Regions from separate parts of the Homo sapiens genome. Here all the other regions are linked to region 2. Evidence: promoter capture Hi-C in 16 types of primary human blood cells and fetal thymus (Javierre and others, 2016). All regions are on one chromosome and are shown on one strand. Each heading gives the region's core, a stretch centred on a gene start or on the middle of the fragment in contact. The rest is flanking DNA. Distances are from core to core; before and after follow the strand shown. Region 1 overlaps CCNY (cyclin Y). Region 2 holds the start of CUL2 (cullin 2). Region 3 has its middle 5.9 kb from the start of PARD3-DT. Region 4 overlaps CCNY (cyclin Y).

What was found. Contacts are between HindIII fragments. The CHiCAGO score rates a contact against its expected background, and 5 or more counts as called.
Region 1: a contact is called between a fragment that was not itself captured here and the fragment with the promoter of CUL2 in region 2, in 8 of 17 cell types (activated CD4 T cells, total CD8 T cells, naive CD8 T cells and 5 more). The highest score is 9.4, in activated CD4 T cells.
Region 3: a contact is called between a fragment that was not itself captured here and the fragment with the promoter of CUL2 in region 2, in 1 of 17 cell types (fetal thymus). The highest score is 5.0, in fetal thymus.
Region 4: a contact is called between a fragment that was not itself captured here and the fragment with the promoter of CUL2 in region 2, in 8 of 17 cell types (naive CD4 T cells, activated CD4 T cells, total B cells and 5 more). The highest score is 11.3, in naive CD4 T cells.

The regions. Positions count from the first base shown.
Region 1 is chr10:35,360,767-35,363,749 of GRCh38, reverse strand. All of the region lies in intron 1 of CCNY (cyclin Y), which reads right to left. Among named protein-coding and RNA genes, the nearest start is that of CCNY, 26 kb to the right of the region's middle. The HindIII fragment of the contact is 2,889 bases long and covers 33-2,921 here.
Region 2 is chr10:35,089,076-35,092,375 of GRCh38, reverse strand. CUL2 (cullin 2) reads left to right here and starts at 2,035. Exons shown (of 21, transcript NM_003591.4): 1 at 2,035-2,197. RefSeq lists an enhancer at 1,615-1,754 and silencers at 1,673-1,861, 1,915-2,114, 2,135-2,264. The HindIII fragment of the contact is 6,346 bases long and covers 1,699-3,300 here.
Region 3 is chr10:34,820,096-34,823,238 of GRCh38, reverse strand. No RefSeq gene overlaps it. Among named protein-coding and RNA genes, the nearest start is that of PARD3-DT, 5.9 kb to the right of the region's middle. The HindIII fragment of the contact is 5,325 bases long and covers 1-3,143 here.
Region 4 is chr10:35,380,328-35,383,388 of GRCh38, reverse strand. All of the region lies in intron 1 of CCNY (cyclin Y), which reads right to left. Among named protein-coding and RNA genes, the nearest start is that of CCNY, 45 kb to the right of the region's middle. The HindIII fragment of the contact is 580 bases long and covers 1,098-1,677 here.

The sequences.
Region 1 (2,983 bases), core at 228-2,727, 270 kb before region 2:
GTAGGCAGGGAATACGAAAACTTTTAAAAGCTTTCCTCTGACTGACAGTGTCAGTCTCGGGGAGGTCGTGGGGCGGAGTGACAACACCAGACTTGCTTCTACAACTCCCTTTCCAATCCAATAACCCCACTACACAGAACCAACAGAGCTGATCTCACTGATTCAGTCTTTTCCCATTCCCATCTAGTTCCCACATCTCCAGCATATTAATCTTCCAGGGTCACTTTGATCAGGTAAGCCTACTACCCCAAAATCTGGTATCCCCGCCTCTACCAGGCCGCCCCACCGTCTGGGAAGAGAGGAGCACCTCTGCCCGGCAGCCCCACCGTCTGGGAAGAGAGGAGCACCTCTGCCCGGCCCCCCAACCACCTGGGAAGTGAGAAGCACCTCTGCCCGGCCGCCCCACTGTCTGGGAAGAGAGGAGCGCCTCTGCCCGGCCCCCCAACCGTCTGGGAAGTGAGGAGTGCCTCTACCCAGCTACCGCCCTGTCGGGGAAGTGAGGAGCGCCTCTGCCGGCCACTCCACCGTCTGGGAAGTGAGGAGCGCCTCTGCCCAGCTGCCGCCCCGTCGGGGAAGTGAGGACCACCTCTGTTGGTCACCCTACCGTCTGGGAAGTGAGGAGTGCCTCTGCCGGCCACCTCACAAGCTGGGAAGTGAGGAGCGCCTCTGCCCGGCGGCCCACCATCTGGGAAGTGAGGAGCGTCTCCGCCCGGCCGCCGGCGGCCCACCACCTGGGAAGTGAGGAGCGTCTCCGCCCGGCCGCCGCCCTGTCTGGGAAGTGAGGAGCGCCTCTGTACGGCCACCGACCATCTGGGAAGTGAGGATCGCCTCTGTCCGGCTGCCGCCCTATCTGGGAAGCAAGGAGTACCTCTGCCTGGCTGCCCCACTGTCTGGGAAGTGAGGAGTGCTTCTGCCTGGCCCCCCCGCCAACTATCTGGGGAGTGAGGAGCGCCTCTGGCCGGCCCCCACACCCTCTGGGATGTGATGAGCGCCTCTGCCTGGCCGCAGCCCCGTCTGGGAAGTGAGGAGCGCCTCTGGCTGCTGTGCAACCCTCCAAGTGTGAAGTGACAGCCTTGTGTGTGATCTTTCTGCCCTCTCCAAAGTTTGCATTTTTGACATTAAAGTTTACTTTTTAATTAAAAGTTTTAAATTGGAGAATTAAAAAAAAAAACTGGTACCCTCTAGCTTGGCATTCAGGTCCCTACACGACATGGACCTCTTAGGCTGCAAGTGGCCCAAGCCTCGTCTGGACTATCCTCCCTGTCTTTAAGTAAATTCAGTTGCCAAGACCCAAATACATCCTGTACTTTGTCACCTGGAGGACTTTCCTACTGCCTTCCCTACTGCCAGAAATGTTCTATTTGCAAGAACCACCCAACCAAAAGACCCAGTACTCAATCTCTCTCTCCATGAAACTGTCCCAGATCACCCAGGCCAAAAGTCACCTGTTCCACCTTGCACATCTTATTGCACACTCTTTTTTATTTGATTTTAGCACCTACTTCTGTACAACATAGTATGTATCACATGCTGCCTTAAATGATAATGTATATATAGGCTGAGTCTCCCTTATCCAAAATGCTTGGTACCAGAAGTGTTTTGGATTTCAATTTTTTTTGGATTTTGGAAGATTTGTTTAAACTTGGGGATGGGGCTCCAGTTTAAACATAAAATTCATTTCTGTTTCACATTCACCTTATACACATAACCTGAAAGTAATTTTATACATTAGTTTTATTTTGTGCATGAAACAAATGTGTGTACAGTGAACCATCAGAAAGCAAAAGTGTCAGGTGTGCAATTTTCCACTTGTGGCATCATGTTGGCATTCAAAAGGTTTCAGATTTTGGGTGCTGAAGTGTGTGTGTTGAGGGGGCAAACATTTTTAAAAGGTTTCAGATTTTGGAGCATTTCTGATTTCAGATTTTCAGATCAGGGATGCTCAGCCCCATACTTCTCATTTTCACAATTACAATTTAGTGCTCCACAAATCAGAGGCCATGTCTTATATATCTTTGTAATATCTACATAATGTAATATGGTTCTCAGTAGATGCTTAATATTTTCTTAGAGAATTAGTGAAGACAGTGAGCAGAATGCCGATTCTCAGACCCATATTAAAAGTTAATCACATGCACCTGAAAAATAACATTCAGTTCCTGCCTACTCAGTAAGTATCAAAAGTTTCATTCCTTTGTCTCATAAAGTTGACTTTTAGAAATAAGGAAATGCCCCCCACAGGCAAACAAAATATTATGTATGAGTTTTTTAAAAAATTAAAAGAAAAAACCTAAAGAACCAAAATCTAAATCTAAGCACTCAATTAATGCTAGTATAATTAGTACTGTCATGATTAAATAAATTGTGGAATTGATGTACCTTGTATTACCTGTGGTAATTAATAATCATGTTTTAGAAGATTGTTTAGAGGCAACACTTTTATAATAAGACAAAAAAATTATAAAGTCATATTTAAAGCATGGTCCCAATTATGAAAGAAATATACATCCACAGGTATATATGTAAACACAGATAACATATCTGAGAGAAAATGAAACAATAAATAAGTGGATGAATAAATACCTGCATTATGGGCCAGGTGCAGTGGCTCATGCCTGTAATCCCAGCACTTTGGGAGGCCGAGGCGGGGGGATCACAAGGCCAGGAGTTCGAGACCAGCCTGACCAACATGACGAAACCCCGTCTACTAAAAATACAAAAATTAGCTGGGCATGGTGGTGGGCGTCTGTAATCTCAGCTACTCATGAGGCTGAGGCAGGAGAATCATTTAAACCCGGGAGGCAGAGGCTGCAGTGAGCTGAGATCGTGCCGTTGCACTCCAGCCTGGGCGACAGGGTGAGACTCCATCTCAAAACAAAACAAAACAATCTGCATTTTGGTAAATCCCCACCATAGAAGCTTGATTAATGTGTCTGACTCAGAGACATATTAATATATTATCAAATTTTCTTTAAGTTATACA
Region 2 (3,300 bases), core at 786-3,285:
GATCCAATGACCACCCGGACAGGTTGGTGGCACTGTCTTGATCCCTGCTAAGGCATCAATAGTGTCCGTATTCCTTTGCACCATCAGTACAAAAACAAACTCAGTCAAAAAGACAGAGGAGGCCAGGCATGGTGGCTCACTCCTGTAATCCCAGAACTTTTGGGAGGCTGAGGTGGGCAGATCGCTTGAGCTCAGGAGTTCCAGAGGAGCCTGGGCAACATAGTGAGACCCCATGTCTACCAAAAATACAAAAATTAGCTGGGTGTGGTGGCGCACGCGCCTGTAGTCACAGCTGCTTCGGAAACTGAGATGGTACACTCGCTTGAGCCCAGGAGTTTGAGGCCGCAGTGAGCTATGATCAGGCCACTGCACTCCTGCACTCCAGCCTCAGCGACAGAGGGAGACCCTGTGTCAAAAACAAAAACAAAACAAAACAAAAAGCAGGGGGGGCCTGACACGGTGGCTCAGGCCTGTAATCCTAGCACTTTGGGAGGCTGAGGTGGGTGGATTGCCTGAGCTCAGGAGTTCAAGACCAGCCTGGGCAATGTGGTGACATGGTGAAACCCTGTCTCTACAAAATACAAAAAATTAGCCGGGTGTGGTGGCGGGCTTCTGTAATACCAGCTACTCGGGAAGCTGAGACAGGAGAATCACTTGAACCCGGGAGGTGCAGGTTGCAGTGAGCTGAGATTGTGCCGCCACTGCATTCCAGCCTGGGTGACAGAGCAAGACTCTGTATCCAAAAAAAAAAAGGACCAGACATATTGCATTGTTAACAAACTAGTTGTTAACCTTATGACCTCTGTAAAGGTCTCAGGGATTTCCAGAGGTCTGGGGACCACACTTTGAGAATCACTAGATTAAAAGGGGGAAAACATGGGAGGAAAAAAAGGTCACATAATGGAAACATACTGTTGGATTGAATTTCGTATATAAAAACCCTTTACTGAAATAAAGAGTAGAGACTTCAAGTACCAAGAGAAGCAGATTAGAAGAGGAGGAAGGCTCTAGGGACTGATCAGGTCTGGAGGCAGGGTTTTAAATGGGCCTTGAAGGGTTCGTGCAGTTTGGAAGGAAGGGATGGGAGGGAAAAGCTTGCTGAATCGTATAAATGAACAAGACCCTGATGGTGAGCTCTTGAGGATATGAAAGGCAAAAAGCACTAAGGCCGGGCTTTTGTTCCTCTGTGGCCCTGCATATATGAGGAGGTGATGAGTAATTCTATATTTTTATCAGCTTTACCGTTTAAAACTCCAAGGGAGGAAAACCCTTCAAACTGATAGGCTTGGGGCTTGGTGAAGGTGGGGTATTAGTGAAAAAGATGTGAAGTTTCTTTATCGAAAATACATGTATGTCCAAGAAATTCTCTGTAGATAAAAACTAACAAGAAAAAGAGTTTGTCAGAGAGGAAAAGTAGTTTTGCTAATTTATTTTTGATCATTTGCAAAGCCCATGGAAGTGTGTGGCAAGAGGATTGTGGTGTCTTAGGATATTCACATAGGTCTGAAACAAGGAAAACATACTTCTGTTGAAAGCACCATTCCAACATATTGTTATTAGCAGTCCCTGAACTAACGGGTAGTGGGTGGGTACTGTGTCCATCAGCTCAGCGAACCGCAATTGCCTCATTGACAGCAAGCCCAGCAAGGAATCACTTGGAATATTAATTTCCGTGGCCTTTCGCAATCACACGAAGCTTGGCTCCCTGCGCTTGCCGTAACGCGGCCTGTACCATTGCTTTCCGGGTGGCGGGGGGGATTTGGCAGCAGCGGAAGAAGGAGACCGGAGGGTGTGTGTTGGGCAAAGCCGGAGGCAGAGGAGGACGATTGTTTTACGGATCCCGTGATCGGCCCGTCCTTCTCCCCTTTCCCCCCCTCCCTACCGCCCCTGTCCCGCCGGGGAGCGGCGGCGGCCTTGGACTTTGCTGTCTTTCCTCGCGGAGACAGGTGAGTGTCGGCGCGCGGGCTCCCCGGGCTTCGCTCCCCACCCCCCGCGTCTCCGGGGCCGGTGGCGGCGGCCGGCCGGGGAGGCGGCCTCGGCGCACAGTAATGGCAGCGCTGTGAGCAGGGGAACGCGAGCTGACAGCCGCCGCCGCCGCCGCCTCCGCCCACCTTCCTCGCCGGGGCTTCGTCTTTCACTCCTTCGGGCTGCCTCCCCCTCCCCTTGTCCCCTGCCCCTTGCCCTGCTTCTGCAGAAGGTAACCCCGCTGAGGGTCGGGGAGCCGGGCTGCAGGCGCCGGGAAACTTCCCTTCCCGGTTAATGGGTGGCGGGGCTGGGGCGGAGGAGAGGAGTTGGGGGCGACGAGGTGTGGGGAGAGGGATGAAAGGGGGAGGCCCGGGAAGATGGTATCCTGTAAGTGACCTCGGCTCCCCAGAGCGCTGACCCGTAAGCCCTGCCACCCCCTGGACTGGATCCCGGGCCTCCCCAACCCGATCTTGGCCGCCTCTCCCGCGGCCCCATTTTCCTTCGAAGGAGGGAAGGTGAGAGTGCGTGTATTCTTCTACATATTTACGTGCTCACACGAATACACAACTCTGTGTGTTTGTGTGTGTGTGTGGGGGGGGGCATCTCATGCATCCTTACCCCGAGTGTTTTCACTTTTGTTTCCGCAGACTGCAAAGATTGATAGCTTTGGGGAGGAGTATCCTACGTGCATGCTAGACTTCTTGTCTCAACCCTTAGGGTCTGGTGAAATAAGATCCTCACACGCTTTCTAGCACTTGCTTACCCTCTAGAGAGTCTGGACCATTCCCTACCATTACGTGCATGCAAATAAAACATCTGTGAATTGCAGACTGTTATTAATGTTAAGTCCACATCTTTGCCCCATGGATTAATATTAACAGTTGAAGGCCAGTACCCTGGGCGTTTAAATTTTGAAGATAAGATGCAAAATATTAACGTTCGCTATAGATTGTGACTGTTCAACATAAACGTCTTTGAACTAGACCTGGCCAAGCCTACCTTCGTAGTAAAGTATCGGAAATAATCACTTTGATCTGATTGACAACTGACTACATAATAATCGCTTAAAAACATTCAAAACACTGTTGCCTACCCTTTAGAATCTTACATTCCTTTTCAAGACAGACACATGAACAAATGAGCTATACTTTGCTTCTTTTGCCCTTATACAGTATCTGGAAGATCCTTCCAAAAGAGTCGCGTGAGATAAGAGAAGTACACAGTTTTTTTGTTTTGAGATGGAGTTTTGCTCTTGTCACCCAGGCTGGAGTGCAGTGGTGCGATCTCGGCTCACTGCAACCTCCGCCTCCCGGGTTCAAGCAATTCTTCTGCCTT
Region 3 (3,143 bases), core at 558-3,057, 270 kb after region 2:
GCAGTGGCGCGATGTCGGCTCACTGCAACCTCCACCTCCCAGGTTCAAGTGATTCTCCTGCCTCAGCCTCCTGAGTAGCTGGAACTACAGGTGCGCCACCACAACCAGCTCATATTTTTGTATTTTTAGTAGGGACGGGGTTTCACCATGTTGGCCAGGATGGTCTCGATCTCTTGACTTCATGATCTGCCTGCCTCAGCCTCCCAAAGTGCTGGGATTATAGGTGTGAGCCACCTCACCTGGCCTAGATCCCCATCTTGATAGATAGATAGATAGATAGATAGATAGATAGATAGATAGATAGATAGATAGATGAAAGAAAGGCTGGACGCAGTGGCTCACACCTGTAATTCCAGCACTTTGGGAGGCTGAGGCAGGAGGACCACTTTACAACCAGCCAGGACAACATAGGAAGACCCTATCTCTACAAAAAAATTAAAAAAAAAAAAATCCATGCATGGTGGAACACACCTGAAGTCCTAGCTATTTTGGAGGCTGAGGCAGGAGGATTGCTTGAAGCTAGGAGTTCGAGGCTGCAGTGAGCTATGATTGTGACACTGCACTCTAGCTTGGGGTACAGAGCAAGATACTGCCTCCAAAAACAACAATAACAACAACAACAACGAAAGATTTCTGTGGGTTCTGGATCTACCACTGCAGATCTACTGCCTGGTGTTCCATCCAAGTAAACCTCCCCAGCTGGAACAAGCATGGTGCCTCTGCCACGACACTGAGCGAATGAAATTCCAAAGCACCATAGAGAGTTTTTGAAATTGAACTCCCGGCTTAATAGGGTAACTTGACAGAGTGGGGAGGGATGAGTCAGCCATTTAAAATCAGGTACAGGGGATTACTGGGGCTGGATGTGCACTGGTACAGCATACCAGAATTATTACACAGAATGTCAGGGGCCCGGGGCCCTGGGCCTCATCTGAAGCAGCCTCAAAGCCACTCGCCTCCTCTGACACCCGTAGGTCTGGTTCTGGAGAACCTATTGGGAAGAGGACTTTCCTGCTCCAGGTAGGTTGGAGGCAGTGCTGGAGAGGCTTGAGGCTGGAAACCCAGATAGGGCCATCCTTCCTGCCTGCCTTCCTTCCTTCCTCCCTCCCTCACTTCTTTTTCTTTTCTTTCTTTTCTTTCCTCCCTCCCTCCCTTCCTCCCTCCCTTCTTTTTCTTTCCTTCCTTCCTTTTCCCTCCTTCCTTCCTCCCTCCCTCTCCCTCCCTCCCTTCCTCCCTCCCCTTTTCTTTCCTTATTTTTCTTTCTCTTTATTTTCCTCCCCTTCTTTCCTTTGCTTTCTTTTCCTTTCCTTTCTTCTCCTCCCTCCCCTCCCTCCCTCCTTCCTTCCTTTCTTTTCTTTTTCCTTCCTTCCTTTTCTCTCTCCTTCTTCCTTCCTCTTTATCTCTTCTTTCTTTCTCTTTTTCTTTCTTTCTTTTTCTTTCTTTCTTTCTCCTTCCTTCCCTTTTCTCTCTCTCTCCTTCCTTCCTCTTTCTCTCTTCTTTCTTTCTTTCTCTTTCTTTCCTTCTCTCTCCTTTCCTCTCTTTCTTTCTTTCTTTTCTCTCTTTCTTCCTTTCTTTCAGATGGGTCTCACTCTGTTGCCCAGGCTACACTGCAGTGTGCCATCATAACTCACTGCAGCCTTGAACTCCTGGGCTCAAATGATCCTCCTGCCTCAGCTTCTTCAGTAGCTGGGATTATAGGCTCCAGCTGTTTCTCCTACCCATCCAGATTCTTTCAGGATTTGAGAATTTGAGCCATTTAATTTTTTTTTTTTTTGAGACAGAGTCTCGCTCTGTCGCCCAGGCTGGAGTGCAATGGTGCAATCTCGGCTCACTGCAACCTCCGCCTCCTGGGTTCAAGGGATTCTCCCTGCCTTAGCCTCCCAAGTAGCTGGGATTACAGGCGCCTGTCACCACGCCTGGCTACTTTTTGTGTTTTTAGTAGAGACAGGGTTTTGCCATGTTGGCCAGGCTGGTCTCGAACTCCTGACCTCAGGTGATCCGCCTGCCTCGGCCTCCCAAAGTGTTGGGATTATAGGCATGAATCACCACGCCCAGGCATTCTCAAAGTTTTTTAAAGGAGAGAGAGAGAGAGGGAGAGAGAGAAAGAGAAAAAAAAAACTTTTGGTACTTTTTTTTTTTTTTTTTGTCTTTTTATAGAGATAGGGTCTCACTCTCTCTCCCAGGCTGGAGTCCAACAGTGCAATCATAGCTCACTGCAGCCTCCAACTCCTGGGCTCAAGCAATTCTCCCACCTTGGCCTTCCAGGTAGCTGGTACTACAGGCATGCACCACCATGCTTGGCCAAATTTTTAACTTTCTGTAGGTCTTGAACTTCTGGGCTCAAGTGATCCTCCCACCTCTGCCTCCCATGTAGCTGCAATTACAGGTGTAAGCCACCACATCCAATTAACTTTCAGTACCTTATGTTCCTGATAAAGCCATGCCTGCCTCAGAGGGAAGGCAGGATGGACTTTTACCCACCAGAGAATCCTGGTTCAAATGCTGAAATTCCCCCAAATAGCAGCAATCTTACTACCTGCACCTTTGGCTTCCCCCAGCAACCTAGAAGGCCAGCACTCTAAGCCTCACCGAAGAACTTGACTCTGAACTTCCCTCTCAAAGATTAGGCTGAAATAACTGGCATTTATATTTTATTTTATTTATTTATCTTGAGACGGAGTTTCACTCTTATTGCCCAGGCTGGAGTGCAATGGTGCCATCTCAGCTCACTGCAACCTCCGCCTCCTGGGTTCAACTAATTCTCCTGCCTCAGCCTCACCAGTAGCTGGGATTACAGGTGTCTGCCACAACACCCAGCTAATTTTTTATATTTTTAGTAGAGACGAGGTTTCACCATGTTGGCCAGGCTAGTCTTGAACTCCCGACCTCAGGTGATCCACCTGCCTTGGCCTCCCAAAGTGCTGGGATTATAGGCGTGAGCCACTGTGCCCGGCCCTATTTTATTTTTTGAGATAGTGTGTCACTCTGTCGTCCAGATTGGAGTGAAGGGACATGATCATGGCTCACTGCAGCCTCAAACTCCTGGGTTCAAGTGATCCTTCAGCCTCATAGCTGGAACCACAGGTGTTTGCCACTACACCCAGCTAATTTTTAACTTTCGTATAGATAGAGTCTCACTATGT
Region 4 (3,061 bases), core at 138-2,637, 290 kb before region 2:
TTGCAGTGAGCCGAGATTGTGCCACTGCACTCCAGCCTGGGCAACAGAGCAAAACACCATCTTAAAAAAAAAAAAAGAAAAGAAAATGTTTCTAAAAGTTTCTAGTTCAATTTCCTACTTTACTAAGTTTCATACGCTGAATATTGATTCAACGTCATTATTCTAAGCACTGTTATCCATTTACAGTCACCCCTAGGTCATCTGCAGGTGACTGGTATTTGGACAAACACCAAAATCTGTGCATGCTCAAGTCTCCCCATCGGAGCTGTAGAACCCACAGATACAGAAAAAGGCAGTTCTTGGTCACGCAGGTTTTGCATCCCGAAATATTGCGTTTTCGATCCATGTTCAATTGAAAACAATCCACATATAAGTGGACTAATGTGGCTCAGACCCAAGGTGTTCAGGGTCAGCTGTGTAGTACTAAGGGTACACAGAGTGTAGTATGGTTGACTCTCTACTGGTCATGAGTATATCACAGCAGCAGTTTGTTTGTTTGTTTTTTACCTTTTGGATTTTATTTTCACTAAGTTAATCATAATAATAACAACAATTATAATTACTGAGCTCTTAAATGTACTGTCTCCCATAGTTTTCACAACAACCTTATGAGAAAAGTACTGCTGTTATTTTTCCCATTTTGAGGAAATGAAGAAGCCGGCCATGCAAGTTTAAGTAACTTGCCCTAAGTCAGTGTCTCAAGCTCAGCACTACTGGACAACTGGGCCCGGTAATTCTTTACTGGAGGGGTAGAGGGGCTGTCCTGTGTACCACAGGACAGTTAGCAGGAGTCATGTCTTTACCCACAAGATGCCAATAGCAGCCCCCATCCAGTGGTGATAACTAAAATGTCTCCAGACCTTGCCAAATGTGCCCTGGGGGCAAAATCAATGGAGAAGCACTGTTCTAAGTGATGCTGGAGATGAGAGTCAAGAAGCCAGGGTTCTGGCTGAGGTCTTACCACTGCAAAGGCGCCACGGCCCCCTCCCAAGAGAAGGCATCAAGCCCCCTTTGCATGCTCCAAGCAAAGGAGCCGGCAGGAGCTCTTGCCTCTGTCGCACACACAGTCTGTCAGCACTGCAGACAGGCCTGAAGCTTGACAAATATCAAAGTGAGACAAAGCTGTACCAAGTGCCAGCAATTTCAGACACAGAGTAATCCTTCAGTACAAGTAATGCCCTGTGTAACTTTCTTCCTATCCTAACGGTTCCAGTTGCACATATGAAAGATTCTCAATCTCCTCACTTAAAAACGAATCACAGAAAAAGCCTTCGCCTACAACGGCATATCTAACACATTAGACACCCAGGAAGGAATATTTTTTAACACACCCTCCATGTATGAAAAAAATTATTTTCAGTAATAGTTATGTAAAAATCAGTAACTATTATTTTCTTGATTTGTTCTTTAGTTTTAAAACAACTGTCTTAAATGTGATAAGTTTTAATTTTACAGATATTATTTTTGCACTTACCAAGCAAAAATATTACACCTCATGGTTTGCATTCTGTTTCACTGTTGTAATTTTTAAGGACTCTTGGACAAAAACTCCAAGTGATCAAACAGAGTGACAATTATAGTCATCAGTAACACTATCATTTATTTCAAATCTACTGTTTAAAAACAGATATACGTAATACTACAGAGTTAAATACACAAGACTGTCCTAAGCAAGCTTTCTGAACAATTCTAAAGTCTTAAGAAGTTACTCTGGAAATGAATGCAAGCAGCTGAATCCCCATGTGTTTAGGGCTAATCTGACACCAGGAGTGTCAGATTTAACCTCCATGTTGCATACAGTATTTCTTTTTTTTTTTTTTTTTGAGACGGAGTCTCACTCTGTCACCCAGGCTGGAGTGCAATGGCACAATCTCAGCTCACCGCAACCTCCACCTCCCGGGTTCAAGCAATTCTCCTGTCCCAGCCCACCCCCTCCAGTAGCTGGGATTACAGGCACGTGCCACCACATCCAGATAATTTTTTGTATTTTTAGTAGAGACGGGGTTTCACCATGTTGGCCCGGCTGGTCTCAAATTCCTGACCTCAGGTGATCCACCCGCCTCGGCCTCCCAAAGTGCTGGGATTACAGGCATGAGCCATGGCGCTCGGCCTACAGTATCTATTAAAGGCTAAGTACTCAAGAAGTACTCACTTGAAGCTTACGTATCTATTATTAAAACTCAATAAAGCAATTATTTAGAACACCAACAAAAGATTTTGGGGGAAAGAATATCACCGACATTGTTTAGAACTGCAGGCAAAATTCTAGACATTTAGACTTTACAGGCAGACTTCTGGATGCTTTTATTACTGTTATTAAATCCTCCACAGACAATGCACCCCTCATCACCAGCACTGGAGCAGACCACTCCCACCACCCCAGCCTTGGGATGCCGCTGTCTGCCTATCAGAGTTAAAATGGTACTCGGACGCTTCAAGCCCAGAAAGTCAGTTGCAAAAGAATCAAAAGAATAAAGGAAAGAGAAAAGCCACAGAAAATCACAATAAAAGAAACAACGAAGGAGTGAGATCTCTTGGTTCCACTTCTAGCCTGACCTCAGCTGACCGTGTATGTCAGGCAAACTTTAAAACTTCTCCAGGCAGTGCAGCAGAGAGGGTGAAGTCACAGGCGGCTGGCTGCGGACTGGGAGACCCCAGGCAAGGTTCTTAATCTCTCTGGGCCTGTCAGTTTTCTCATCTTCAAGAGAGGAAATATATTTGTATCTAACCCCAAAAGGCTATTGGGAGGTGATAAAAGTAAAGCATGTGAAGTGCTCTATATGTGATAGTTGTACCTGGGCAATATCTTAAAATTACTAAATCTGGGTGAAATATAGAGACTCATCGTACTATTATCTTTAATTCTGTATAGTTTTGAAACTTTCTGAAATAAATGTTTGAAGTTAGTTATTATCAGGTTCCTTAAATACAACACGTAAGAGAAATAATCACCTCCAAGGTCTCTTTGGGCTTTAAAACTCTCTGATACATTCCACACTGGAAGGATAGGATTCCCAGGTGGAAATCAGGAGTGGGAGAGAAAGGGAAAGACATTAGAGAA